Linked DNA regions of Homo sapiens: all the other regions are linked to region 1. Evidence: promoter capture Hi-C in 16 types of primary human blood cells and fetal thymus (Javierre and others, 2016). All regions are on one chromosome and are shown on one strand. The core of a region is centred on a gene start or on the middle of the fragment in contact, and the rest is flanking DNA. Distances in the headings are between cores, read along the strand shown. Region 1 holds the start of RPL26L1 (ribosomal protein L26 like 1). Region 2 has its middle 54 kb from the start of DUSP1. Region 3 has its middle 43 kb from the start of BNIP1. Region 4 overlaps BNIP1 (BCL2 interacting protein 1). Region 5 holds the start of BNIP1 (BCL2 interacting protein 1). Region 6 overlaps CREBRF (CREB3 regulatory factor).

Region 1 (4,197 bases), core at 939-3,438:
TACATTGTTAGAATGACAGCCTCCAGCTCTTGTCATCCAGGATATCATTGTGCCTGTTTTAATTTTACTGAACCACACAGCATGTTAAAAACAAAACAAAACAAAGCAAAAAGCCTTCCCTGCTCTGCTTGATCATGGATACTCCTTGATGATCTTGGGTTCTCAAGATCTGTCTTTACATGGCTTTCCTTCACCAGTGAGGCTCTGAACTTCTTGGGAGCACTCCTCCCCAGATCTCTTTAATCAAGACCTGTACCTGGCTCCATGTAGGTACCAAATAAATTGATGAGCAAATGAATGAATGTATGAGTAAATAAGTGGGTGAATGACAATAAATGGATATGTGATAGAGAAATGAGTGAATAAACAGAACCAGTGAGTGAGTGAGTGAATGAATGAGTGAATGAATGAATGAACTCCTTGGGGCAGGGCATGGGTTTGACTAACACCTAAGGACTATTCTAAGAAGAACCTCTGACCTTTACTGTGTGTGCGCCGTTATGCCAGCGTCTGCTCCTGGGTTGCCGATAGGTAATGACTTCCTTTCTTAGGACTGCCCCCCAACCTCCTTATTCTTGGAGCCTGGGCACACGCACAGCTGGGTGGCCCTTCAGCTGATACTGCCTTAACTGCTTTAACTCTGCCTGCTGTGCTGTCCAGGCTTCTGCAAATAGCCCAGGTGTGGCCATCCTCCAGAGGCCTCCAACATTAACTGTGAAGGGCCCGGAATAAAACCTAGTATTAGTAGGCCAGGCGCAGTGGCTCACGCCTGTAATCCCAGTACTTTGGGAGGCCGAGGCGGGAGAATCACCTGAGGTCGGGAGTTCAAGACCAGCCTGACCAACATGGAGAAACCCCGTCTCTACTAAAAATACAAAATTAGCCGGGCGTGGTGGCGCATACCTGTAATCCCAGATACTGGGGAGGCTGAGGCAGGAGAATCGCTTGAACTTGGGAGGCGGAGGTTGCGGTGAGCCGAGATGGTGCCACTGCACTGCAGCCCAGGGAACAAGAGCGAAACTCTATCTCAAAAAAAAAAAAAAAAAAAATCTAGTATTAGTAAACGCAGGTGTTTAACAATGTCACCACTACATGTCAGGGAACACTGATAAACTAAGAGAGAGCACGGGACCTGCCTGGGTGTGGCTGCTGTACTTGCAAGACATCTTCCCTCTCTGAGTTTCAGCATGCCGGCATTTGGCACTAAGTTGTCGTTCAACATATATGGAATGAATGAACGAAAGGGAGAGTTGGAGTTAATAACACCTTGCATAGAATAAACCCCGTCGGTTCTTAACCCGAAGAGAGTCGAGACCCAGAGCCCTTTTCCTTCCCTGCCGCCACGGTGCCCACGGAGGGGGCGTGGTTGATCTCCCTCACAGCTCCGTCGGGACCAGAGACCCGGGGACCTTTTACACCCAGGGTCCGCGCAAAGTGTCGGCCTAGCCAGTGGTTGGGTGGCGCCCGGGCCTCCAGGCAGTCTTCCAGGGGTCGGCGAACGAAACGCGGAGCTCGGGAGCGACCCGGCGGGGCCAGGCACGGGCAGAAGGGCCAAGAGGGCCACAGGTGGGCGCGGAGCGGCCGGAGTGGGCGGGGACTGGATGAGAGGGGCGGGGTCTAGGAGAGAGGGGCGGGGCGGCGGCCACAAACCCGCAGGCACGCCGCCGGCCGCCGTTTAGTCCCAGAGATAGAAAAAAGTAGAGGTAGGAGGGCGCGGCGGCTCACGCCTGTAATCCCAGCACTTTGGAAGGCCGAGGCGGGCGGATCACGAGGTCAGGAAATCGAGACCATCCTGGCTAACAGGGTGAAACCCCGTCTCTACTAAAAATACAAAAAATTAGCCGGGCGTGGTGGGGGGCGCCTGTAGTCCCAGCTACTCGGGAGGCTGAGGCAGGAGAATGGCGTGAACCCGGGAGGCGGAGCTTGCAGTGAGCCGAGCTCGCGCCACTGCACTCCAGTCTGGGCGACAGAGCGAGACTCCGTCTCAAAAAAAAAAAAAAGAACACCAGTAAGCCTCTACCGCAGGCCCTACACAAGCAGGCCCTTGTACTCACTGGCATCGCCCTCCCGGGGCCGCCAGGAATGAGGCACTGAGATCCCACCCCAAGCCGCTGGGGGCGCCATTCGACTTCGCTCCTACGGAAATGGGGCTTCGATGTCTTTCTGCGCTTGCGCGGCACGGAAACTCACTTCCGGCCCTGCGCACTCAGGGTCTGAGGCAGCTAGTAGCCGGGTGAGTGGAGGCTGGAGTTTTCTCGGACAGTGAACTCTACCGCCCCGTGAGACCCTGCCCTATGTGTCGCGGGAACACATGTCACCCCACAGCTCTCTTTGAGTGACCTCCCGACCACCCATTCCTGCCTAACCCTAGCATTCCTTCCTCAGCCTCAAGGTCCCAGTGCTACCCTCTCCCCCACGACCCCTTTAGACGGGCATGCGACCTCCACACACGCCTCACTTTATGTGATAGTCAGACTAGTCGCATCTCTCTGTCCTCCCTCAGTTGCCTTTTCAGAGGCTACCTCCCCTGTAGAGCCTTTGTTGGGGGATGAGGAGTGTCTTGGGTCGAGAACAGGCCCCTGTAACCCACTGAGCGCCCCTTCATTCCGTCTCTCTCCGCCCTTTGTAGAGGGTCACCATGAAGTTCAATCCCTTCGTTACCTCGGACCGCAGTAAAAACCGCAAACGTCACTTCAATGCCCCCTCACACGTGCGCAGGAAGATCATGTCATCCCCGCTCTCCAAGGAGCTGCGGCAGAAGTACAATGTCCGCTCCATGCCCATCCGCAAGGACGACGAGGTCCAGGTACGTCTCCCTCCGGCGCTAGTGGCGCTCGGACACCGTTGCCTAAGAACGTCATGCGTGGAGCAGTCACAGACTCACATGCCTCAGGACTCTGGAAAGTAGTGTGACCCTTCAGATGTGTTAGGCCAGAGATAGGGTTCAGAGCCACCAGAGAGTGCCTGCGTTGCTTTAGAGCATTTAATTATTTAATAGTAATAGTAAAATTTAATAAAACAGTATGTCAACCAAGCAAAAACCTGCTTTTTTGTTTGTTTTGTAGAGATAGGGTCTTGCTATGTTGCCCAGGCTGGTCTCTGAACTCCTGGCCTCAAGTGATCCTCCCACCTCAGCCTCCCAAAGCACTGGGATTACAAGTGTGAGCCACCGTGCCCCACCAAAAATACTTTTGATTTAACCTTCTGGCTGCTAGTTTGCCAAGTGTTGTTGCCCAGGGTGGCTTGTTGAACCAGACTGTAGGGGAAGGTGCTGCAGTGAGAGTAGTGTTTTAGTGTATTTGGGTGTAGTGGGATTGATGGACAGAGATTTGTGGGAGCTGGCCATGTGATAGCATTGGATTTGGCAGGAGAACTGGTAAAGATGCAGCGAGTCACTCTTTCATAATTTCTAAAAGACTGGCCCATGTGAGAACGTACAAGCCCTCTGTTCTCTGTGATTGGAGCTTAGAATGCATGAGAGGAGGGAAGGGAGTTGGATATGAGTGAAATAAGCAGGGGCTAGATTCATTCCTCAAAGGAATATTTATGGAGCACTTACCAGAGATTGTTCTAGGACAAGATTGACGAGGCCCTTGTTCTCATGGAGATCACGTTTTAGAGCAGGGTTTCCTAGCCTCAGCTCTATTGATATGTTGGACTGGATAATTGTTGTGGGGGGTGGGGGGTGGGGGCTGTCCTGTGCATTGTAGAATGTTTAGCAGCGTCCCTGGCCTCTCCCCACTAGATGCCAGTGGCACTCCCTCCCTTCACAGTTGTGACAAGCAAAAATATTTCCAGATATTGCCAAATGCTCCCTGGGGGGCAAAATCAACTCTTCCCTCACTCAGTTAAGAGCTATTGTCTTAGAGAATGAAATGACATAAGGTGATGAGGCTTGGTGTATCATCTGAGACACTGGGACTCTTTGAAGGTTTGGGGATATGTTAAGGAGGAAAAAATGTGGAGTTAAGCCGGAAGTGTGACAGGAAGAGTGGAAAGAGTAGTTCAGAGGTATGATCAGCAGTTTCAACCCCCTCTCTCCTGGATCCTTCCCATCAGACATGTTCTAGAATGGGGGAATTGCAAATACTTATAGGGGATAGGTAGGGATAGAAAATGGCAAACTGGAAAGCTCAAGCCTCACATATAAGATATAATCATCTACCTTTAGCCCATTGATGCCTGGGGGAAATGCAG
Region 2 (4,197 bases), core at 1,067-3,566, 240 kb before region 1:
GGCTGCTAGGAGATTTCCCAGCACTAGGGCTGTGACTCAGGCTGAAGCCTGAGCCCAGGCACTTCCTGGCTGGTGACTCAGTTTCCCCAATTCTACAGCGGCATCACACAACATCTGCTTCTCAGCATCGAAGAGGCGTTGAGGCATGGCCGGTATGTGTCTGTGGGGTCCTTCAAAATCTTATTTATCAAGCAGTTAGAGTGGGCTCAGGACTTTGTGTATGTGTTTGCTCTCTCAGGTGAGCCTGAAAAGATCAGGACTGCGACTCCCATTTTACAGAGGGATAACCTGAGGCTCAGTGAGGTGAAGGCAGTTCAAGATCCTTGACAGAGGCTCTGGATCACTGCGCTAGAAAGTGGTGGGGTGGGGAAAGACCGCTGGGCTTTCTGACTTCAGCAACACGTTCTCCAGTAACCAGACTTCCGAACAGTGGCAGACAGGGCCCTCTGCCTGGCAAGCACACACCACAGGACCTGTCCCACAGAGGGCCTCCCAGCCCGCTCTGCCAACCTCACCCACAGGCCCCCAAACTTGAGAGGGTTGACATAGGCCATGGAGACCTGTGCGAATGTCTGCCTTCCCTACTCCAGTCGACCCCCTGCATCACCCAGAGCACCAGGCCAGGGCCTGGAGTCACGCTCTCCTCTGCCCAGCACTGCCAGGAAGGCAGAAGGTGAGACACAGGAGAGAATGCATGGCGAGAGTGGGCATTTATTTGGCACGTCCTAGGTGGGCTGGGCTGCTCGATGAGATTTTAGGTATATTATCACCATCAGGAAGATTCTAGAGGTAATGAAACTGACATCCAAGAGGGGAGGTGACCTCTCCAGGGTCTCCACCCTGTGCGCCTCAGTTCCCCCAACTGTGACATTGGATGAAGGAGCTCATGCTCAGGGAGGCTGGGAGGGGTCCTGAGGAGGGCTCAGAGCAAGGCCTTGGGACAGCATAGTCCCTGCAAGGGAGTGACCGCTAGGGGCCTTCCTGGGAGCCTGCTGTGCCCTCAGCCCCAGCCCTGCCCACCCTCCCTTTCCCTCTCTGCCTTTCTCCAGAGCACGGCTCAGCCCTTTGGGGCTCTGCACTTTGGGGCCAGAGAGACCTGAGTTAGAATCCAGACCTGCCACTCACTGGTTATGCGACCTGGGCTGAGCGGTTCTTTTTCTCTGAGTCTCAGTTTCCTCATCTGTCTGCGTAAATAAATGAGGGTAATAACCAGCCGCATTTCAAGGGGTCTGGAGGTTAGGACATCATATCTTTCAAGTACCTGGTACGCTGTCTGACGCAGAGTAACCATTTAATAAAGCGGAGCTGTTGTTGCTGTCGCTGTCATTGTTGGCGTTTATTTATGAATGTCGAGGCGGCAGGTGGGCCTTGGTGGGACTGTACGGACATTTCCCGGATGCCCGGAAGGTGGCGCTAGAGACCCCCTTGTCGGCTCCCAAGAGAGCGCTAAGCATGGTCTTCACATCATCGGGAAGAAGCCAAACTTAGACGCCCGGATGGTTTCCAGCTCTGTTAATTCCCTGGGCAGATGCTTCCTGAACACCCCAACAATGTTCTCAGGTCCACCACTGGGGCTGCGGACCTGGGGCTCCTCCCCACCAGCCACCCCGCCCTCCCCAACAGGCCTCCACTGCCTTTCTCTCCCTCCCTTTGTCTCTCCTGCCTCCTCCCTCCCTTCGTTTCTTCCTTCCTTCCTTCTTACAAATAGGCACTGTGCACCTACTGTGTGCTGGGCTCTGTACGATGAACTGGAGATGCCCAGGGAAGAAGACCTTTGAAAGGCTGTGCCCTCTGGAACCTCCAAACTACGTGAGGACACAGAAATAAACAAGAGAAAGAAGAAAAAAAAAGATGCTTTCAGATCCTGGCAAGCATCGGGAGAAAATACAACAGGGTGGTGGGATAGAGGGACGGAGGAGCTGGGGTGAGGAGAAGGCGGGAGGTGGTCAGAGGGAAGGGCCGGTGTGGAGGGGGCCGCCGGAGCAAGGACCCTCGGACACGCAGCCCAGCATATCAGGGAGAAGAGACAAGAGGAAGCAGTCGGGTGGGGGCAGATGTGGCCAGAATCAGAAGCGGGTCTGCGAGGTACAGACTAAAGGGCCGGTCAACTGCTGCAGCAACCACAGCCACCACTAATGCTTACTGAGCACTTACTAGGTGCCAGGCACTGGCATTGTCCCATTTTATAGGTGGGGAAACTGCAGAAGGGACCGCAGCCAACAGTGTTTTCAGGGGCCCTGGGAGTTCCCAGGGCCACTGGTGGAAGAAGGAAGAGAGAATGCTCAGTGAGAGTGGGCATGCATTTGGCACGTCCTCGGTGGGCTGGGCTGCTTTATGCTATTTTAGGTACATTGTCACCATCAGGAGGATTCTAGAGGTCATGCAACTGGCATCCAAGAGGGGAGGTGACCTGCCCAAGGTCACAGTCGGGGATTGGCAACCCTGAGACCTGAACCCAGGTCTTCCCCATTTGGGCAGGTGGCCCCCTGTGCCCAGAAGCCTCAGAGCCCTCTGGAACGCCATTTTCCTTGGGCCCCACAAATAATCTGGCTTCAGTTTGCCCCTGAGCCCACCTGTCAGCAAATCCACTCCACATCCCTCGGGGATCCTGCTCTATTCCACCTCCAGCACTCCCACGAATCCCCATCTCTCCCTGGATGGCTGGATCCTGTTTCCTCCTTTCATGACACTCTGACCATCTAAAGTTATCAGACCTACTTGTGTACATTCATCTCCCCCACCAGACTATACCCTGACCCCAGTGGGTCTCCCCAGCCTCCTGCCTCAACCCCCCTAACCTTTCACCCTACCCTTCACCACACAGATGTGCTTACACCATTCTGAACAAGCACACCACTCATGAGAGCAGGCACAGACCCATCTTCATCCCCCTCTCCTCACAGCTGAGCACAGTGTGTGCATGGAGAAGGGGCTCAGTGAAGATAGGTGGATGGATGGATGGATGGAAAGACAGATAGATGAATGGATGGGTGGATGGATAGAAGTCGAATGGATGGATGATGATGGTGGACAAATGGATGAATGACGAATGGGTGGAAGGAAGATTAGTGGATGGATGGATGGATGGATGGATGGGATGGATGGATGGATGGACAGGATGGATGTATGAATAGATGGATGGATGCATGGATGTATGGATGGATGGATGGATGGGTAGATGGATGGATGGATGGATGGATGGATTGGATGGATGGATGAACAGATGGATGGATGCATGGATGTATGTATGTATGGATGGATGGATGGATGTATGGATGGATTGGATGGATGGATAGGATGGATGAATGGATGAATAGATGGATGGATGCATGGATGGATGAATGGATGGATGGACACGAGGGATGGATGGATGGACAGGATGGATGGATGGATGGATTGGATGGATGGATGGATAGGATGGATGGATTGGATAGGATGGATGGATGGATAGATGAATAGATGCATGGATGCATGGGTGGGTGGATGGACAGGATGGATGCATGGATGGATGGTTGGACAGGGTGGATGGATGGATGGATGGATGGATGGATGGATGGATGGATGGATGTTTGAAAGACTACTTGACCTAAGCCTGTGTTTGCTTTTTGACCCACAGGAAGGAGGTCAGAATAAAAGATGGCAGCAGTGACCCAGGTAAATAAGTCCTCCAGTGTGGGGCTATGGTGGGGAAAAGGGGTTAGGTGCCAGTGCTGGGGATGGGCCATCAGCAAATTCTGGCAACATCTAATGTGCACAGAGCAATGATGAGTAAACCCCAAGACGTGACCTGGAGCATCTCTTGTAAAGAACAGGGAGAGGGTGTAGTCCCTGAAGCTGGGACCAGGGCAGCAAAGCACGTCAAGGCTCTGACTCAGCCAGGAGCCATGGGAGTTTGAGAAACTGGGCGCAAACACCCACCTCATGCATGAACACGGCTCTGTATAGGCATGAAGGACTCTCACTTGTGGTGCCATGACTGAGCTTCCAACCATGGTCCTTGAAGCCAGTGGGACTCTACTCATGGTGCAGATGGAGAAACAGATGCTTCCAGAGGGGAAGTGACTTGTCCAAGACCACCCAGTCAGAAAATGGCTCACAGTTGGCTTGGGTGGGAGTTGGTGGGGTCAAATGGTTCTGGAGGGGCCAGAGGCTTGGGGTACGGGACTGTCAGGCCGGACTCAAGGGTCCTCAGGTGTA
Region 3 (4,197 bases), core at 544-3,043, 230 kb after region 1:
GGGTCTCAGGGACTCCCTAGGGTTCCTCCGACCACACTTTGAGGACTGATAGCTTAGAGCCTCTCTTGGGCAGCTTCGTAAGTGCACGTCTACACAGGAAGAACATTAATGCATTGTCTGTAATAGCGAATATTTGAAACAACTGAAATGCACATCTAAAGGATGAAGAAATTGGAGTGTATTTCTTCAGTGGACTACAATGCAGCAGGAAAAGGAATGTTTGGCATCTGTGTGTATCAACATGGATCAATCTCACGATGTCAATCAAAAAAAGCAGCCGCAGAACGATTCTCATAGTTGACTACTATTTGTGTAAAGTTACATTTTTTGGTTGTGGTAAAATACATATAACATACAATTGACTATCTTAACCATTTGTAAGTGTATTTATTTCAGTGGTATTAAATACACTCATGATGTTACGCAACCATCAGCACCATCCAGCTCCAGAACTCTTTTTTTCTTTTGAGACAGAGTTTCGCTCTTGTTGCCCAGGCTGGCGTGTGGTGGCACGATCTTGGCTCACTGCAACCTCTGCCTCGCAGGTTCTAAGCGATTCTCCTGCCTCAGCCTCCCAAGTAGCTGGGACTACAGGTGCCTACCACCATGCCCAGTTAGTTTTATTTTTTATTTTTATATTTGTAGTAGAGACAGGGTTTTGCCATGTTGGCCAGGCTGGTCTCAAACTCCTGACCTCAGGTGATCTGCCTGCCTCGGCCTCCCAAAGTGCTGTGATTACAGGCGTGAGCCACTGCACCCGGCCTCAGAACTGTTTATCTTGTGAAAGTGAAGCTCTGTCCCCATTATACAACTCCCCACTCTCCCCTTCCCCCAGGCCCTGACAACCAGCATTTCACTTCCTGTCTCTATGATTTTGACTACTCGGCTCCGATAAGTGGAATCATACTGTATTTATCTTTTTGTGACTGGCTTATTTCACCTAGCCTGATGTCCTCAAGCTTCACTCATGTTATAGCATAGGTCAGAATTTCCTTCCTTTTTAACACTGAATAATATTCCTTGCATAAAGTTTTAAACATGAAAAACAATTACATATTTTAATGGATATATACGCATGTGGTAAAATAGAAAGAAACGAATGAAAAGAATAGACACCAAAGTCAGGATGGTGTCTGCCTCTGCAGGGGCGAGGGGAGATGGTACTGGGAGGGGCGTGCAGGGGCTTCGGTGGAGTCAGCAGTAGCTTGCTTCCTAGCCAGGGGATTTTATTCTGTATGCCAGCGCTTCCTTACACTCATGCCGTGCCCAGCATACACGTGTGCTGAGCTCAACACTCAGGTGTGCCTGAGATATCCACACCTTGAGTCCTCTGGGCAGCCTAGCAGAGCCTGGGGCAACTGGAGCCCCTGGGCTGTGAGCCCACTTTGGGGAGGCCCAGTTGAGTGACAGGACCTGAGAAGCACCCTGTGGTGCCCCAGCGGCCTCAGGAGCACCGTGAGCCTTGGTGGTATGCCCTGATCTAGGCGGGGTCCTGAGTGCCATCAAGAAAGAGCTGCTTGCTGCCTGGATGTGGAGGACAGTAGCCAGCCGCCAGGCATTATGCTGTCTGGTTTGGGCAAGAGCCACAGGGGCTGGTGAGCTTGCATTGCAGGTGCCCAGGAGTAGCGGGTACAGACTGAAGGGAGGCCCCCTAGGGGTTGGAGGGAAGGATGAGGGCAGGTGCCTGGGCAGGCCCAGCTCCGGGCTGCCTGCTCTGTCTTCACACAGATGCTTCTGTTTGGGTGACTGTAGGGGTACAGGGGTAACTGTGCCACCTGCAGGCAACCATTGCAGTCAATCATGTGTGCTCTACAAGTTAGAGTGTCAGCATTATTGTGACATACTCAGTATGAAAAAATCGGACTGGCTCACGCCTATAATTCCAGCACTTTGGGAGACCAAGGCAGGCAGATGACTTGAGGTCAGGAGTTCAAGACCAGCCTGGTCAACATAATGAAATCCTGTCTCTACTAAAAATACAAAAAAAAAAAAAAAAATTACCCGGGAGTGATGGTGCATGCCTATAACTCCAGCTACTCGGGAGGCTGAGGCACAAGAATCTCTTGAATCTGGGAGGCAGGGGTTGCAGTGAGCCGAGATTGCACCACCGCACTCCAGCCTGGGCGACAGAGTGAGACTCTGTCTCAAAAAGGAAAAAAAAGAAAGTTGGACTGGATTAGAAATCCTAAGAAGTTCCTATATCATAATTGCCAAGGAAAGAAAGGGTGATCCTTTATGTGTAGTTTTGACCATTGTAAAAATTTTAAGGTAGAAAAACACAATTTTTAAACCTTTTTAAAAGTCACTTACTTGTAAAAGCAAAATTTCTTGGCAATGATGATTACTAAGAATCTGAAACTCTTGCATTCAAGGGATGATATGTCATTTAACAGAAAGAAGAGGAAACTGGTCACAGTGGCTGATGCCTGTAATTCCAGCACTTTGGGAGGCCAAAGCGGGAGGATTGTTTGGGGCCAGAGGTCAAAGCTGCAGGGAGCCATGGTTGCACCATTGCACTCCAGCCTGGGCAACAGAATGAGACCATGTCTCTTAAAAATCAATCAATCAATCAATCAATCAATCAATCAATCAATGATGAAGAATCATTTAAAAAAAACCTAGAATTTGAAGCTTGTCTCATTAAATCAGGACTCACGGGTGCCCACTGAGCCTGAAGCCTGACATAAAAATTATTTTTATGGAAGTAAGTCTTCCTTAAGATTTTGGAAAATATTTTATTCAAATTTTATGTTAAATATATTTTCCCCTCTTTGTATTTTACCTTTGAATCAGAATTATATAATCTAAAAATGTGGTAATTTTTTTTCTTTTTTTTAGAGACAGAGTCTTGCTCTGTTGCTCACGCTGGAATGCAGTGGCATGATCACGGTCCCTGCAGCCTTCACTTTCCTGGGCTCAAGCGATCCTCCAACCTTGGCCTCCTGAGTAGCTGGGACTACAGACATGTGTCACCATGTCCAGCTAATTTTTGAATTTGTAGTAGAGATGGGGTTTTGCCATGTTGGCCAGGCTGTTCTCGAACTCCTGACCTCAGGTGATCCACCTGCCTCGGCTTCCCAAAGTGCTGGGATTACAGACGTGAGCCACCATACCTGGCCTGATTTCCATTTAGAAAATTGACTAACTACATGGTTCCTTAAAACACAAAATTTAAAGCGTTTGCAGAGAGTAACTTCTTTTATTTTTATTTTATAGAGACAGAATCTCTCTGCCATCCCAGGCTGGAGTGCAGTGGTGCACTTATAGCTCAATGCAGCCTTTACCTCCTGGGCTCGACCGATCCTCCTACCTCAGCCTCCTGAGTAGCTGGGACCACAGGCATACACTTCCATGACTGGCTAATTTTTTCATTTTTATTTTTTGTAGAGATAGGATCTAACTATGTTACCCAGGCTGGTCTCAAACTCCTGGCCTCAAGCGATCTTCCCACCTCAGCTTCCCAAGGTGCTAGGATTACAGGCATGAACCACTGCTCCCAGATGCAGATAGTCATTTCTTAGCAGAGGTGTGCTGGATAACAGAGACACTTAAAGTGAAACATTCACTTCGGTATTCATCTTGGCAAAATGAAAATGTATGTCCATACAAACATCTGTACACAAATGTTCACAGCAGCTTTAATAGCCAAAAAAAAAGGGACACAACTCAAATATCCAGCAGGTGAATGGTTAAACACACTCTGGGATGTCTGTACACTGGAATACTACTGAGCAATGCGGAGGGTCCACCTACTGCTCTGGGCAACTGCTGAGAGGGACTATGACGGAATGATGCTGAGTGAGAAAAGCCAATCTCAAGTGGTTACATACCATCAGAGACCATCTCTATAACATTCTTGTTTGAGAAACAGCTTTATTGATGTATATACTCACATATGATTTACCCATTTATCATGTACAATGCTGTGGCTTTTAGTATTTTCACAGAGTTGGATAACGATCACCACAGTCAATTTTAGAACATTTTCATCGCCTCCAGATGAAACCCTTTAATCCCTCAATTCCCCCCTCAACCACCCCATCCCTCGGCAATCACAATCTACTTTGCGTCTCTGTAGCTTTGCTTATTCTGGACATTTCATATAAGTGGAATTATACAGTATGCAATATTGCGTGATTGGCTTCTTTCACTTGGAATCATATTTCGTTTTTCAAAAACTCTAAATTCAGGAGGTAC
Region 4 (4,197 bases), core at 735-3,234, 200 kb after region 1:
GGCAAGGTGTAGGAAACCCCCTCTTGTTTTCAGCTTGGTGCTTAATTTAATTACATAAGTAATTTTTTTAAGTTTGAAAAAAATGCATACTTATTTGTAGTAAATTGGTAAAATAAAGTATGAATTACAAAATTAAAATATTGAATTTTTTTTTTTTTCTGAGATGAAGTCTCACTCTTGTAGCCCAGGCTGGAGTGCAGTGGTGCCCTCTTGGCTCACCGCAACCTCCGCCTCCTGGGTTCAAGTGATTCTCCTGCCTCAGCCTCCAAAGTATCTGGGATTACAGTTGCGTGCCACTGCACCCAGCTAATTTTTTGTATTTTTAGTAGAGACGGGGTTTAACCACGTTGGCCAGGCTGGTCTTGAACTCCTGACTTCTGGTGATCCACCCACCCCAGCCTCCCAAAGTGCTAGGATTATAGGCGTGAGCCACCATGCCCGGCCGAAAATATCAAATCTTATTACTCATGAACATTTTGGTATATTCTCTCCCTCATTTTTATTTCTACATTTCTTACAAAGTCAAAATTGTACCATACATAAAATTTCATATTCTGCTGTTTCAGCACAAAAGTTGTTCATTAAAAAAAAAAAAAAAGCTTTTTAAGCCTAATTCTAACAGTACATAGTATGTAGATTGTATGTTAATACAATTCCCTGTGTGTGTTTGCATTTCTAGTGTTTAAGTAGTGTAAGTAATACACCAGGGCATGTCTTAGAACATAAGGCTTTATCCACATTTTGGATGTTTCCTTTGGAGGGATTTCCAGGGATGAGATGATTGAGTCAAAGGAATGAACATTACCAAGGCTCTTCAATTGGCAAATTGCTTTACAGAAGGCAGCACTGGTTTATGTTCCTACTAGCAGTCCACAGGGGCGTGGGTCTCAGCACACCCTTTCCAGCATTGAATGTGATCATTTAAAATATGTATACTAATTGGATAGGTAAAACATGAGATCTCATTTGGATGTGGGGCCTTCTTGCAGGGAGGCTTTTGTTGACATTCCTCCCCTTTCTCTTCCTCTGAACTTTTAGGAAAACCACCAAAGAGAGCCTGGCCCAGACATCCAGTACCATCACTGAGAGCCTCATGGGGATCAGCAGGATGATGGCCCAGCAGGTCCAGCAGAGCGAGGAGGCCATGCAGTCTCTAGGTAAAGCTGGGCCTGGAGTAGGAAGCTTCTCCCAGAGACGCTGCTCTAGGGCCCTTGCCCTGGCACCTCCACTCTGGGCTCCTCCACCACAGCCCACACGATGTTCACTGACTTGGGTGGCTTCTCCCTCATGAGATGACTTGACACCATGGTCTTATCCAGTGTGGGATGTGCTGCTCCTATTTCTCTTTTTTTTTTTTGAGATGGAGTTTCGCTCTTGTTGCCCAGGTTGGAGTGCAATGGTGCGATCTCAGCTCACCGCAACCTCTGCCTCCTGGTTTCAAGCGATTCTCCTGCCTTAGCCTCCCAAGTAGCTGGGATTACCGGCCTGCACCACCACACCCGGCTAATTTTGTATTTTTAGTAGAGACGGGGTTTCTCCATGTTGGTCAGGCTGGTCTTGAACTCCCAACCTCAGGTGATCCGCCTGCCTCAGCCTCCCAAAGTGCTGGGATTATAGGCGTGAGATGCCACGCCCGGCCCGTATTTCTGTTTACTAGAAGACCCCACACCCCCATCGATGTTTCCTCAGGGGGAGCATTCCCATGTGTTCATGTGAAAGGCAGAGGTCCCAGCCCCTCTCCTAGAGAGGGTGTCGGCAGGGCTGGGTGAGGGGCCTGGAGTCTGATTTTCAGTGAGGGCTCTGGGGACCCATATGGCCAGGCAAGTTTGGGAATGGTTGCTCCAAGAGATGTTTGGCGAATCAGCTGCTGGTAGGACTGCTAGGACCTCAGTTTACAATTATACTCCCCAACGTTATTTTTCCTATGAGTTCCTTTTAAAAGATGTGAATCAGAGGCTACAGGAGAGACTGCTTGAGACCATCTGGTTTCCTCCAATAGTTTTCCCAGAGTGTCTCCTCTGTGATGGAGAAGAGTATCAGCCCTCTCCAGGGTCCTTCAGTATAAGACAACAGAAAAAGGGCGTTTACTCCTTGAAACGCTTTTGGAAAATTGCACACGTGGACAAAAGGAGAAAGCATGGTATCCTGAATCCCCTGAGCCCTGAGTCCATTACCCCAGCCAGTCTCGTTTCAGTTCTACCCTCAGCCCATCCCCCATCTGGATTATTTTGAAGCAAATCCCAGACATCATCCATAAATATCTCAGTACATCTCTCTAAAAGATAAGGGACTCTTTGGGGAAAAAGCAGAAGCAACCCCATAACTACAATACCATGATCACCCCTAGAAATTATAATTTTGGACCACTGTTTTTTCAGTGCACCAAATAGGCAGAAGCAAAAGGAAAGCAAGCAGGTGACCCCAAGGTCACTCCTTGAGTTTGCAGCTTACCTGAACATCTGGGCTCGGAACCAGCCAGGGGCTTCCTCTCAGCGTGTGCTGTGGGAGAGGCCTTGGAGAGAGAGGGAGCAAGGCGACAACTTGGCCTCTGAGCCCAGGGCTTTTATGCTCTGGTGTGGCGACAGCATACCCCCCGCTAACAGTGGGAAGGAAACACAAATGCTGGTGGCTTCTGGGGTGTTGAGAGGGTCCCGGTGTTCTTGGGGCCCATTTTGTACAAGCGATAACTATTGAAGAAAAGAGAAGAATACAGTTCTTAACCCTTTCCTTATGCCTCACAAATTCAGCTTGATTTAAAAGCCTACTAGGACCATAATTTTAAAACAAAAAGCTTATTAGGAATATGGTGTCTGGAATTTGCTCCACAATTGCAGGAGTAGTTGCAGTTGGGGGGAGGGGGAGCAGGATTTCAGAGGTTGGTGGTTCTTGGTTATGGGTGGTGGACACATGGCATTTCATGATATTATGCTGTCTGCTCTGTGATGGTTCAAAATTCTCCGTAATAATAAAGTTTAAAAAGAAAGGCCTATTAGATTTTTACTTAGCAAGATCTCAGGGTTTTGAAATCGCAGCAGGCAGGCGTGGAGAAAGCAGGCGGAGAGGGATTCCTGTTCTGTGAGTGTTTGTTTTTCTCCTTTTATCTGTCATTTTCAAAACGCTGCTGTGTTTCCTCTGATAATTTATCCTATTTACTTATTAGCTTTTAATTTTTAAAAAGGTAACACATACAGCATAGAGAAGGATAAGAAAACTCTAGCCCAGGACTGCCATAGAAACGCAACAGCAGCCACGTATGTAACTTTAAATTTTCCAGTAGGCACATGTTAAAAAGTAAAAAGAAACATAAGAAATTAATTTTAGTAAGATGTTTATTTAACCCATTATGTAAAATATTATAATTTCAATGTAAAACTAATATTAAAAACTATTGAGATATTTTACATTCCTTTTTCTTAGATTAAGTCTTTGAAACATCGTGTGGATTTTGGCCAGGCGCGGTGGCTCATGCCGGTAATCCCAGCACTTTGGGAGGCCAAGGCGGGCAGATCACTTGAGGTCAGGAGTTCGAGACCAGCCTGACCAACATGTTGAAACCCTGTCTCTACTAAAAATACAAAAAGAAAATTAGCTGGGCGTGGTGGTGCATGCCTGTAGTCCCAGCTACTGGGGAGGCTGAGGCAGGAGAATCATTTGAACCTGGGAGGTGGAGGTTGTGATGAGCCAAGATCACGCCACTGCACTCCAGCCTGGGTGACAGAGTGAGACTGCATCTCAAAAAAAAAAAGAAAAGAAACATTGTGTGGGTTTGACACTTACATCTCCTGACATCTCCATTTGCATTAGCCACGTTTTTCTATGCACAGCAGCCTCGCATGTCTAGGGGCTGCCATATTGGTCAGCACAGCTCTGGAGAGTACAAAAGGGACACAAAAAAGATCACTCTCTGTTCTGACCTCCAGCTGACCCCTACCTGCCAGCCCTCTGGTCCACTTCCCAGAGGCAACCTCTGTAACCAGTGTCTTAAAAAATATCTTGTGATCCTCCAAGCTTTTGTAACTTAAGCAAATGAAATACCATTTATCTCCCTGTTTCTTACCTAAATGGAAACATTTCACAGGCGTTCCTTTATACTTTCCCTTTTCACTTAATGTGTTCTATTCAATGGCTGTTCTGATGATGCCTTGCTATGTTTTGTGGGAGAACCTCGCCAGGTACACCTTCTACCCTCAGCGTCAG
Region 5 (4,197 bases), core at 446-2,945, 190 kb after region 1:
TCTTTCTTTCTTTTTTCTTTTTTTTTTTTTTTTTTTGAGATGGAGTCTTGCTCTGTCGCCCAGGCTGGAGTAGTACAGTGGGGCGATCTCGGCTCACTGCAAGCTCCACCTCCTGGGTTCACATCATTCTCCTGCCTCAGCCTCCCAAGTAGCGGGGACTACAGGCGTCCGCCACCACGCCCGGCTAATTTTTATATTTTTAGTAGAGACGGGGTTTCACCGTGTTAGCCAGGATGATCTCGATCTCTTGACCTCGTGATCCACCCGCCTCGGCCTCCCAAAGTGCTGGGATTACAGGCATGAGCCACCGTGCCCGGCCTAGGCTTTGCCACTTTCAAGATAGGTAATCTTGCAACAGGGTTGATTGTTTTTTGTTTTAATTTACTCTAAGCCCTACTCCTGATCTGTGATAATAGTGTAGTACAATTTCAAGGGTGGTTGTGAGGATTAAGAGAGATGAACATGGTCGGGCACAGTGGCTCACGCCTGTAATCCCAGCACTTTGGGAGGCCGAGGCGGGTGGATCACGAGGTCAGTTCGAGACCAACCTGACCAATATGGTGAACCCCGTGTCTATGAAAAATACAAAAATTAGCTGGGCATGGTGGCACGCACCTGTAATCCCAGCTACTCAGGAGGCTGAGGCAGGAGAATTGCTTGAACCTGGGAGGTAGAGTTTGCAGTGAGCCAAGATTGTGCCATTGCACTCCAGCCTGGGCAACAGAGCGAGACTCCGCCACAAAAAAAAAAAAAAAAAAAGAGAGAGAGATGAACATTCAAGTCCTAAGCCTTTAGGTCCTCACAATCTATGCTTGCTGAAGTGACCCGAACAAATGCAGATGGAGTGGGGTCGAGTGGGGGAAACGCTTTCTAGGGAGAGGGAACACCACATTCTAAGGCTACACATCCAGAAGGAGCTTGAGCAATCCAGGAAGGGCGCAGGGTGCGGTGGCTGATGGCCGGGGTGGCTGATGGCCTTGAGGACCAGCTAAGAAACTTGGATTATTTACTAACAAAAATAAAAGAGCCACCATTTGTTGAGGGTTTGCTCTGACATTTCCATCAAAACTACCTTAGCAAGGTAGATTTAATAAATCCAGTTGTATACAAAAGGGAAACACGAGAAGCCATAGAAGGGCTGCATACAGGTAGGTGACTTGATCAATTTCGTGTTTTACAAAGATCCCTTAGATCATGTGTTGGAGTGATAGGAGGTACTCTACCGACCTGCCTTGAACTCCATACTTTAAAAAATATATGACGTTTATCATTTCCTCTTTTACTCCACAATTTATACTCACTGTAGAAAATATTAAAAATATAAGAAAGTTTGAAGAAACAAAAAATTATTACTGGTACTTTCCAGAGACATCTCAATTGATACTTTTCTTCCAGTCTTTTTTTTTCTATGTAAAAAATATATAGTTATTAGAATGCCTGACAGAAGGAAGATGGAAAGAGACCACTGTGAAGCGTTCTTGATATTCCCTCTTCCCTTCCTCTCCATGTTATTAGGGCCATACCAAGAGGAGAGGCTGATTTCCCTACACGTGTCAGGGAAAGTCCCAACTCTGCGCAGTGACCCTCGCTTGCCATTTTCGCCGGTCTCTAGGGGGCGCTGCCCCGAGACTGGGTGGGGAGGGAAAGAAGGTGGTGCGAAAACGCGTTTGAACTTGGGTCCTGCCGCTGCCCGTAGCCGGCGTCCCCAACATGGCGGCTCCCCAAGACGTCCACGTCCGGATCTGTAACCAAGAGATTGTCAAATTTGACCTGGAGGTGAAGGCGCTTATTCAGGTACTGATCCCGGGACCCCTGCCGGGCTCCAGCAGCCCTAACCCAAGCTCTGCTGGTCTGTGAGCTTGGCAGTGTCACTCCCGAACTTTCCCCACTTGGTTTCCCAGACCACAGGCTCCGCCCCATGGTCGGCTACCCCCCCGGTCCCCATTTGGTTGTGTCCCGGTGACTGCTGGCCTTGATCCTTTTTCCGGGTGCCGCCGGATCTCCCATCCCCAGAGCACCCCACTGTTCTCCGCCCCTGACTCAGCTACTGCTTCGGGGCTCGGCTTTGCCCCTTCCACCTGCAGCCCTGGTCGTCGCCCCGCCCCTGACTACCTCACAACCTACCTGTCACCCTGCTTGGCCCCGCCCTCTGACGCTGCTTCAGCATCCTCTGGTAGCGTCCGGGAGGCAGCTAGCCCCGCCCCCTGCTGGCCAGCTCTCCTGGCATCCAAGGCCACCTGGCACGGGAGGCACCGGGTGAAACGAATGTAACCTGGACCGTAGTTGTGATTTTATGCTTGAGGAAATCGAGTACGGCGCCAAGGCCTAGGTTAGAAGGCATACCTGGGTCAGTGGCAAAACTGGGACCTGGACTGTGAAAGTCAACCTAGGAATAACACCTTAGAGTGTTACCCCGTTTGAACAGATAGGAAATGAAGTGTTTCGCCTTAAGCCATTTAAGGGTAGAGGTAAAATAAACGAGTGGACTTAGGCAAGAATTGGGAGTGTAGACACGGTTCCATGAGTTCAGCAAAAAGAAACCGAGTTTTAAACCTTGTTTTTGCTTGTTTGTTTTTGTTTTTTTGAGACGGAGTCTCGCTCTGTCGCCCAGGCTGGAGTGCAGTGGCGCGATCTCGACTCGCGGCAAGCTCCGCCTCCCGGGTTCCCGCCATTCTCCTGCCTCAGCCTCCTGAGTAGCTGGGACTACAGGCACCCGCCACCACGCCCGGCTAATTTTTGTGTTTTGCTTAGTAGAGACGGGGTTTCACCGTGTTAGCCAGGATGGTCTCGATCTCCTGACCTCGTGATCCGCCCGCCTCGGCCTCCCAAATTGCTGGGATTACAGGCGTGAGCCACCGCGCCCGGCCTAAACCTTGGTTTTTAAAAATAATCATTTTCAACAAAGTCACTAAACATTAGATGTAGACTCAGAGTTTGTAACAAGGTGTGGCAAAAAGTGCAGGAAAATAGGGCTCCCCAGATAAACCAGATGCAGAATAAACCAAATTAGATGCAGAATAAACAAATACGGTGCAAAGAAGTGTGATTAAATGAATAAGCCAGAGAAAAAGTGAAATTTGATGCAGATATTTAAAACTTCTTGAACTTCACTTCTCTGATGTATACATTACAAAACTTCTGGGCCAATTATAGAAAAATAAACAGGTTTCATACAAATGAAATTACATTTTCACATAATCTAAATTGCTTAGGCATTCTTCTGTACTCTTTCTAACATTTGGGTTCTTGTCATTGCTGATGAGAAAGACTGATTATAGCTGGATGTATTGCGTTCTTACCGTTTTCCAGCAGCTCTGCTAAGTGCTTTACATACATACATAATCTATGATGTTCTATGAGGTAAGTAGTGTTGTGATAAGGAAACTCAGACACAGAGAATTTAAATAACTTTCCAGGTAACTTTACACAGCTCATAAGTTGCTACAGCCAGGATTCGAATCCACCTGGTCTGTCTCCAGAGCCTGCCGTGAAAGCTGGCACCAGTAATTCTGAATGTCCAGCAACAGATTCTAAATCTGCCCTTAAACATGTCTATATAAACACTCTAACTTATCACTAATGGTTTGTAAAATCACACTGGAGAAGTTAATCTCATCATATGATGCCAGATATTTAAACATCCTGATCTTCCAAGTTGGAAGGATCTAAGGTTCTAAAGTGATAGTATCACTTTTGCATGTCCATTCTTGTTGGGCATACAAGCTGTTTTAAGCTGTTTCCTACTGGCCAGGTAATGTTTTGTTAAAATTTAGGCACTAAAAATTAGGTCAAAGCAGTTGTGTTTCTTTCTAGGCTTTTATATTAATTCAACATTAATCTAAAAAGGAATGAGAAAAATGTAAATGATAATGTTTTTGCTTGTGTTGCAGAGGTAAACAGCAAAGATCAGGATGAATTATAGTTAGTATGTTAATATTAGTTGGTCTAAACCAACTCTATCACTGTATGGATGGTGTCATTTCATTTCATTGCCTTGAGAAAGGCCTTTCATCTGTTCAATGTCTCCTAGGATATCCGTGATTGTTCAGGACCCTTAAGTGCTCTTACTGAACTGAATACTAAAGTAAAAGAGAAATTTCAACAGTTGCGTCACAGAATACAGGTGGGTATTCTCAATTCAGTCAATGAAGGGGGCTCTGTCCTGGGTATATCCTCTGCTTGAGAGCCGTCTGGGTT
Region 6 (4,197 bases), core at 1,253-3,752, 160 kb after region 1:
TTGGTGTTGTCTCTTATTTTTCATGATGGATCTACCTGGGTAGGGGGTTGTCAGTGTTATTGATCATTTCAAGGAACCAGCTTTTGGCTTTGTTAATTTTCCTTATTGTATATTTTCTGTTACATACATTTCTGCTCTTTATTATTTCCCTCCTTTACTTACTTTGAGTTAACTTGCTTTTTTTTTTTTGAGTTGGAGTCTTGCTCTGTTGTCCAGGCTGGAGTGCAGTGGCGCAGTCTCGGCTCACTGCAAGCTCCGCCTCCTGAGTTCATGCTATTCTCCTGCCTCAGCCTCCTGAGTAGCTGGGACTACAGGCACCTGCCACCACGCCCAACTAATTTTTTGTATTTTTAGTAGAGACAGGGTTTCACCGTGTTAGCCAGGTTGGTCTCTATCTCCTGACCCCGTGATCCGCCCGCCTTGGCCTCCCAAAGTGCTGGGATTACAGGTGTGAGCCACCACGCCTGGCCTTAACTTGCTTTTTGTTCTGTTTTGTTTTAAAGCTTTTCAAGGTGGGGAAATCTGTTTTTAAAGCTTTTGTTTTTGAGGGACTTGGTTTGATTTATTTAATAAACATTTACTAAGGTCCTGTGATTCGATATAGCAGGCACTATCAGGTCTTAAAGCAATGAAGACAAGTAGGGCAAGTTGCTTACAGGTTAGTGGACATCGATGCATGTCTACAGTGTGTTGTCTTTTTTCCTTGCCATTTTTTTTAGTTGGAGATGGGGTCTCACTGTGGTACCTAGGCTGGAGCACAGCGGCTATTCACAGTCACCATCCTAGTGCAACTGCCTGCAACTCCTGGGCTAAAGCCATTCCCCTGCCTCAGCCTCCCAAGTAGCTGGGACTGCAGGTGCACACCACCACACCTGGCTACAGTGTGTTATCAAAAGTGCATACCCAGTAATCTTGAGGGTTTTGTTGTTGTTGTTGTTGTTTGCTGCTGTTGTTGTTGTTGTTTTTTGAGAGGGAGTCTTGCTCTGTTAGCCCAGGCTGGAGTGCAGTGGCAAGATCTTGGTTCACTGCAACCTCCACCTCCTGGGTTCAGGTAATTCTCCTGCCTCAGCCTCTGGAATAGCTGTGACTATAGGCACATGCCACCACACCTGGCTAATTTTCGTGGTTTTATTAGACACAGGGTTTCACCGTTTGGCCAGGCTGGTCTCGAACTCCTGACCTCATGCAGTCCACCTGCCTTGGTCTCCCAAAGTGTTGGGATTATAGGCGTGAGCCACTGCACCTGGCTAATCTTGAGATATTTTTAAAAAACAAGTGCCACATCATTTGAAATCAGTTTCTTTGTATAGGAGCTGCTTATAATCATTACTGCTTAATGCTTTCTTACACATTCTCCATTTCTTTTTTTTTTTGAGCATAGAATTTTTTTTATTTGTTGGTGTCATCTATTATTTCTTTTATTATTATTATTATTATTATTATTATTATTATTATTATTATTATACTTTAAGTTTTAGGGTACATGTGCACAATGTGCCAGTTAGTTACATATGTATACATGTGCCATGCTGGTGTGCTGCACCCATTAACTCGTCATTTAGCATTAGGTATATCTCCTAATGCTATCCCTCCCCCCTCCCCCCACCCCACAACAGTCCCCAGAGTGTGATGTTCCCCTTCCTGTGTCCATGTGTTCTCATTGTTCAATTCCCATCTATGAGTGAGAACATGCGGTGTTTGGTTTTTTGTCCTTGCGATAGTTTACTGAGAATGATGATTTCCAATTTCATCCATGTCCCTACAAAGGACATGAACTCATCATTTTTTATGGCTGCATAGTATTCCATGGTGTATATGTGCCACATTTTCTTAATCCAGTCCATTTCTTAATTATCTGTTATTACATAATTAAAAGGAAAGTCTTTCATGGTAGTGACATATTCCAAGTGTTTTGTTCTGTCTTACAGATAATTTATTGTTTGTAATCAACTCCATCAAGCAAGAGATTGTAAACCGGGTACAGAATCCAAGAGATGAGAGAGGACCCAACATGGGGCAGAAGCTTGAAATCCTCATTAAAGATACTCTCGGTAAGAAGAATGCGAGATAAATTCATAACAATTAATAATATGTGTAAGATGTATGATTTAAGGGGATATTAAAAGTTCTTTTAGTTTAAGGAAAAACTCAAGTGCTCTCATTGTAATTACTCTCCTTTATGAGTAGTTTTATCTTTTGAGATTTAGTGTTCATAAACATGTGTTGCAGGTGACCACAACTTGTAATTTAGACTTAATCATGAAACTATTTTAACATTTAAGAAAAACAAACTTCTAGCAACTTTAACCTTTCATGGAGGACAAAAGGTCCCAGAGCTGTCAAGCCTGCAGTTTGCACTTTAGTGTAGAGATTCTTACTTGTTTTACTCAGTAATGCATTTCACAGGATTCCCACAAACTTGGCTCTCTGGTTTCCCATCCCTGAACAGATTGCACAATGTGGGGAGGATCAGAGGGCAGGGATCTAGACGTCAGGCCAACTGAGAGCTGACAGGGAAGAGAGAGCTAGCTAGTATAGACATAGACATGAGAATCAGCTCAGCTGCTGTAGGAGAAAGTCACTGACAGACAGTAGCATCCAAGGCATCCAGCGTTATATGACCCACGAAAACCCCCAAAATTAAATATACACAATAAAAGGTCAAATGTTTTTCTTGAACAAAAGTATATTTATATTGAAAACAATCAGGTGAAGAGTAGACCCTAATCGCCAGTATTTTCCTCAGCAATCACTTACCTCCTGCTTCCATATGGATTAATTCTGTGCTTGACTTTTTCTTCAAATGGGTTGATGCTATTTTAATTTTTTATGTATTCTTTCATAGCATTTCTTTCTTTTCTTTCCTTTTATTTTTAAAAGCATTTTTATTCTTCCTTTATTAGCTACAGGGGGAAATTTAACATTACAAGAAAAAGTTATTTTTACCTTTTTATTTTTTAATATAAACATCTATATGTTTGGTAAGCTTATGTACTCCTTTACACTTGAAAGTCAGTTTTACCAGGTATAAAATCCTCAACTCGTATTTTCTTTCCTTGAGTATCTTGAATATGAGTCTCCATTTTCTTTTGGCATAAAGTGTTGCTATAGAAAAGCTAATACTGGCTGGGCTTGGTGGCTCATGCCTGTAATCCCAACACTTTGGGAGGCCAAGGCGGGCAGATCACTTGAGGTCAGGAGTTCGAGACCAGCCTGGCCAACATGGTAAAACCCTGTCTCTACTAAACATACAAAAATTAGCTGGGCGTGGTGGCAGGTGCCTGTAATCCCAGGTACTTGGGAGGCTGAGGCAGGAGAATCGCTTGAATGCAGGAGGGGTGGAGGTTACAGTGAGCCAAGATTAGACCACTGCACTCTAGCCTGGGTGACAGAGCAAAACTCTGTCTCAAAAAAAAAAAAAAAAAAAGAAAAAAGAAAAGCCAATATTGACTAATTATTTTTTCCTTATAAGTACTTTGCTGTTTTTGCTTAGGTGCCAAAAGGATTTTTTCTTTAAATACCAGTGATTTTGCTAAGTTATATCTTAGAGTTGGTCATTTTTAGTTGACATTTTTATGTTTATACTGTGTTCTTTCAATATGTACTTTCAAATGTTTTTAGTGTTTGATCTGTTCCCTTGCTTTGCTTTTCTTCTGTAGGGACTCTTATTATCTATAGATTGGCTCTTTTTGGCCCATCTTTAGTATTCGTCTGTCTTTCTTTTCTCTTTTCTTCTTCTTTCTTCCTTCTTCTTCTTTCTTCTTCTTCTTTTTTTTTTTTTTTTTGAGACAGTGTTTTGCTCTGTCACCCAGGCAGTAGTGCAGTGGCACAATCTTAGCTCACTGCAGCCTCCACCTCCCAGGTTCAGGTGATTCTCCTGCCTCAGCCTCCTGAGTAGCTGGGATTACAGGCACCCACCACCACACCTGGCTAATTTTTGTATTTTTTAGTAGAGGTGGGGTTTCACCATGTTGGCCAGGCTGGTCTCGAACTCCTGACTTCAAATGATCTTCCTGCCTTGTGTCACTTTTTCTTGAATCATTTTTATCTCTTCATTTTTAACATTATTTCTCCTTTTTACCTTCTGTTTCTCTTAAAGCATTATTTGCTGTCATTACTTGCTGATCTTAGGTTCCTTTTACTTTCAGGAATTTTCCCCTGTATTTCTAATTATTTTCTGAATTCTGTCACCTTATT

The links. The method cuts DNA at HindIII sites, captures the fragments that hold promoters and counts their contacts. A CHiCAGO score of 5 or more calls a contact.
Region 2: a fragment that was not itself captured here is called in contact with the fragment with the promoter of RPL26L1 in region 1 in 17 of 17 cell types (neutrophils, megakaryocytes, fetal thymus and 14 more); the score reaches 35.0 in neutrophils.
Region 3: a fragment that was not itself captured here is called in contact with the fragment with the promoter of RPL26L1 in region 1 in 1 of 17 cell types (naive CD4 T cells); the score reaches 5.1 in naive CD4 T cells.
Region 4: a fragment that was not itself captured here is called in contact with the fragment with the promoter of RPL26L1 in region 1 in 1 of 17 cell types (non-activated CD4 T cells); the score reaches 5.3 in non-activated CD4 T cells.
Region 5: the fragment with the promoter of BNIP1 here is called in contact with the fragment with the promoter of RPL26L1 in region 1 in 8 of 17 cell types (naive CD4 T cells, non-activated CD4 T cells, total CD8 T cells and 5 more); the score reaches 11.0 in naive CD4 T cells.
Region 6: a fragment that was not itself captured here is called in contact with the fragment with the promoter of RPL26L1 in region 1 in 3 of 17 cell types (total CD8 T cells, non-activated CD4 T cells and naive CD4 T cells); the score reaches 7.0 in total CD8 T cells.

What each region holds. Positions count from the first base shown.
Region 1 is chr5:172,957,236-172,961,432 of GRCh38, forward strand. RPL26L1 (ribosomal protein L26 like 1) reads left to right here and starts at 2,189. Exons shown (of 4, transcript NM_016093.4): 1 at 2,189-2,233; 2 at 2,630-2,806. The coding sequence starts at 2,639. It overlaps RPL26L1-AS1 (RPL26L1 antisense RNA 1), which reads right to left and starts at 2,133. Exons shown (of 4, transcript NR_026682.1): 1 at 2,055-2,133; 2 at 904-1,022; 3 at 1-67. The HindIII fragment of the contact is 11,810 bases long and covers 1-4,197 here.
Region 2 is chr5:172,715,566-172,719,762 of GRCh38, forward strand. No RefSeq gene overlaps it. Among named protein-coding and RNA genes, the nearest start is that of DUSP1, 54 kb to the right of the region's middle. The HindIII fragment of the contact is 5,498 bases long and covers 1-4,197 here.
Region 3 is chr5:173,185,899-173,190,095 of GRCh38, forward strand. No RefSeq gene overlaps it. Among named protein-coding and RNA genes, the nearest start is that of BNIP1, 43 kb to the left of the region's middle. RefSeq lists a silencer at 1,745-1,864. The HindIII fragment of the contact is 1,672 bases long and covers 958-2,629 here.
Region 4 is chr5:173,158,895-173,163,091 of GRCh38, forward strand. It overlaps BNIP1 (BCL2 interacting protein 1), which reads left to right. Exons shown (of 6, transcript NM_001205.3): 5 at 1,039-1,157. Among named protein-coding and RNA genes, the nearest start is that of BNIP1, 16 kb to the left of the region's middle. The HindIII fragment of the contact is 1,609 bases long and covers 1,181-2,789 here.
Region 5 is chr5:173,142,836-173,147,032 of GRCh38, forward strand. It overlaps BNIP1 (BCL2 interacting protein 1), which reads left to right and starts at 1,696. Exons shown (of 6, transcript NM_001205.3): 1 at 1,696-1,794; 2 at 4,031-4,123. The coding sequence starts at 1,711. RefSeq lists enhancers at 1,889-2,417, 2,359-2,428. The HindIII fragment of the contact is 7,780 bases long and covers 1-4,197 here.
Region 6 is chr5:173,121,152-173,125,348 of GRCh38, forward strand. CREBRF (CREB3 regulatory factor) reads left to right here. Exons shown (of 9, transcript NM_153607.3): 8 at 1,929-2,051. Among named protein-coding and RNA genes, the nearest start is that of BNIP1, 21 kb to the right of the region's middle. The HindIII fragment of the contact is 963 bases long and covers 2,022-2,984 here.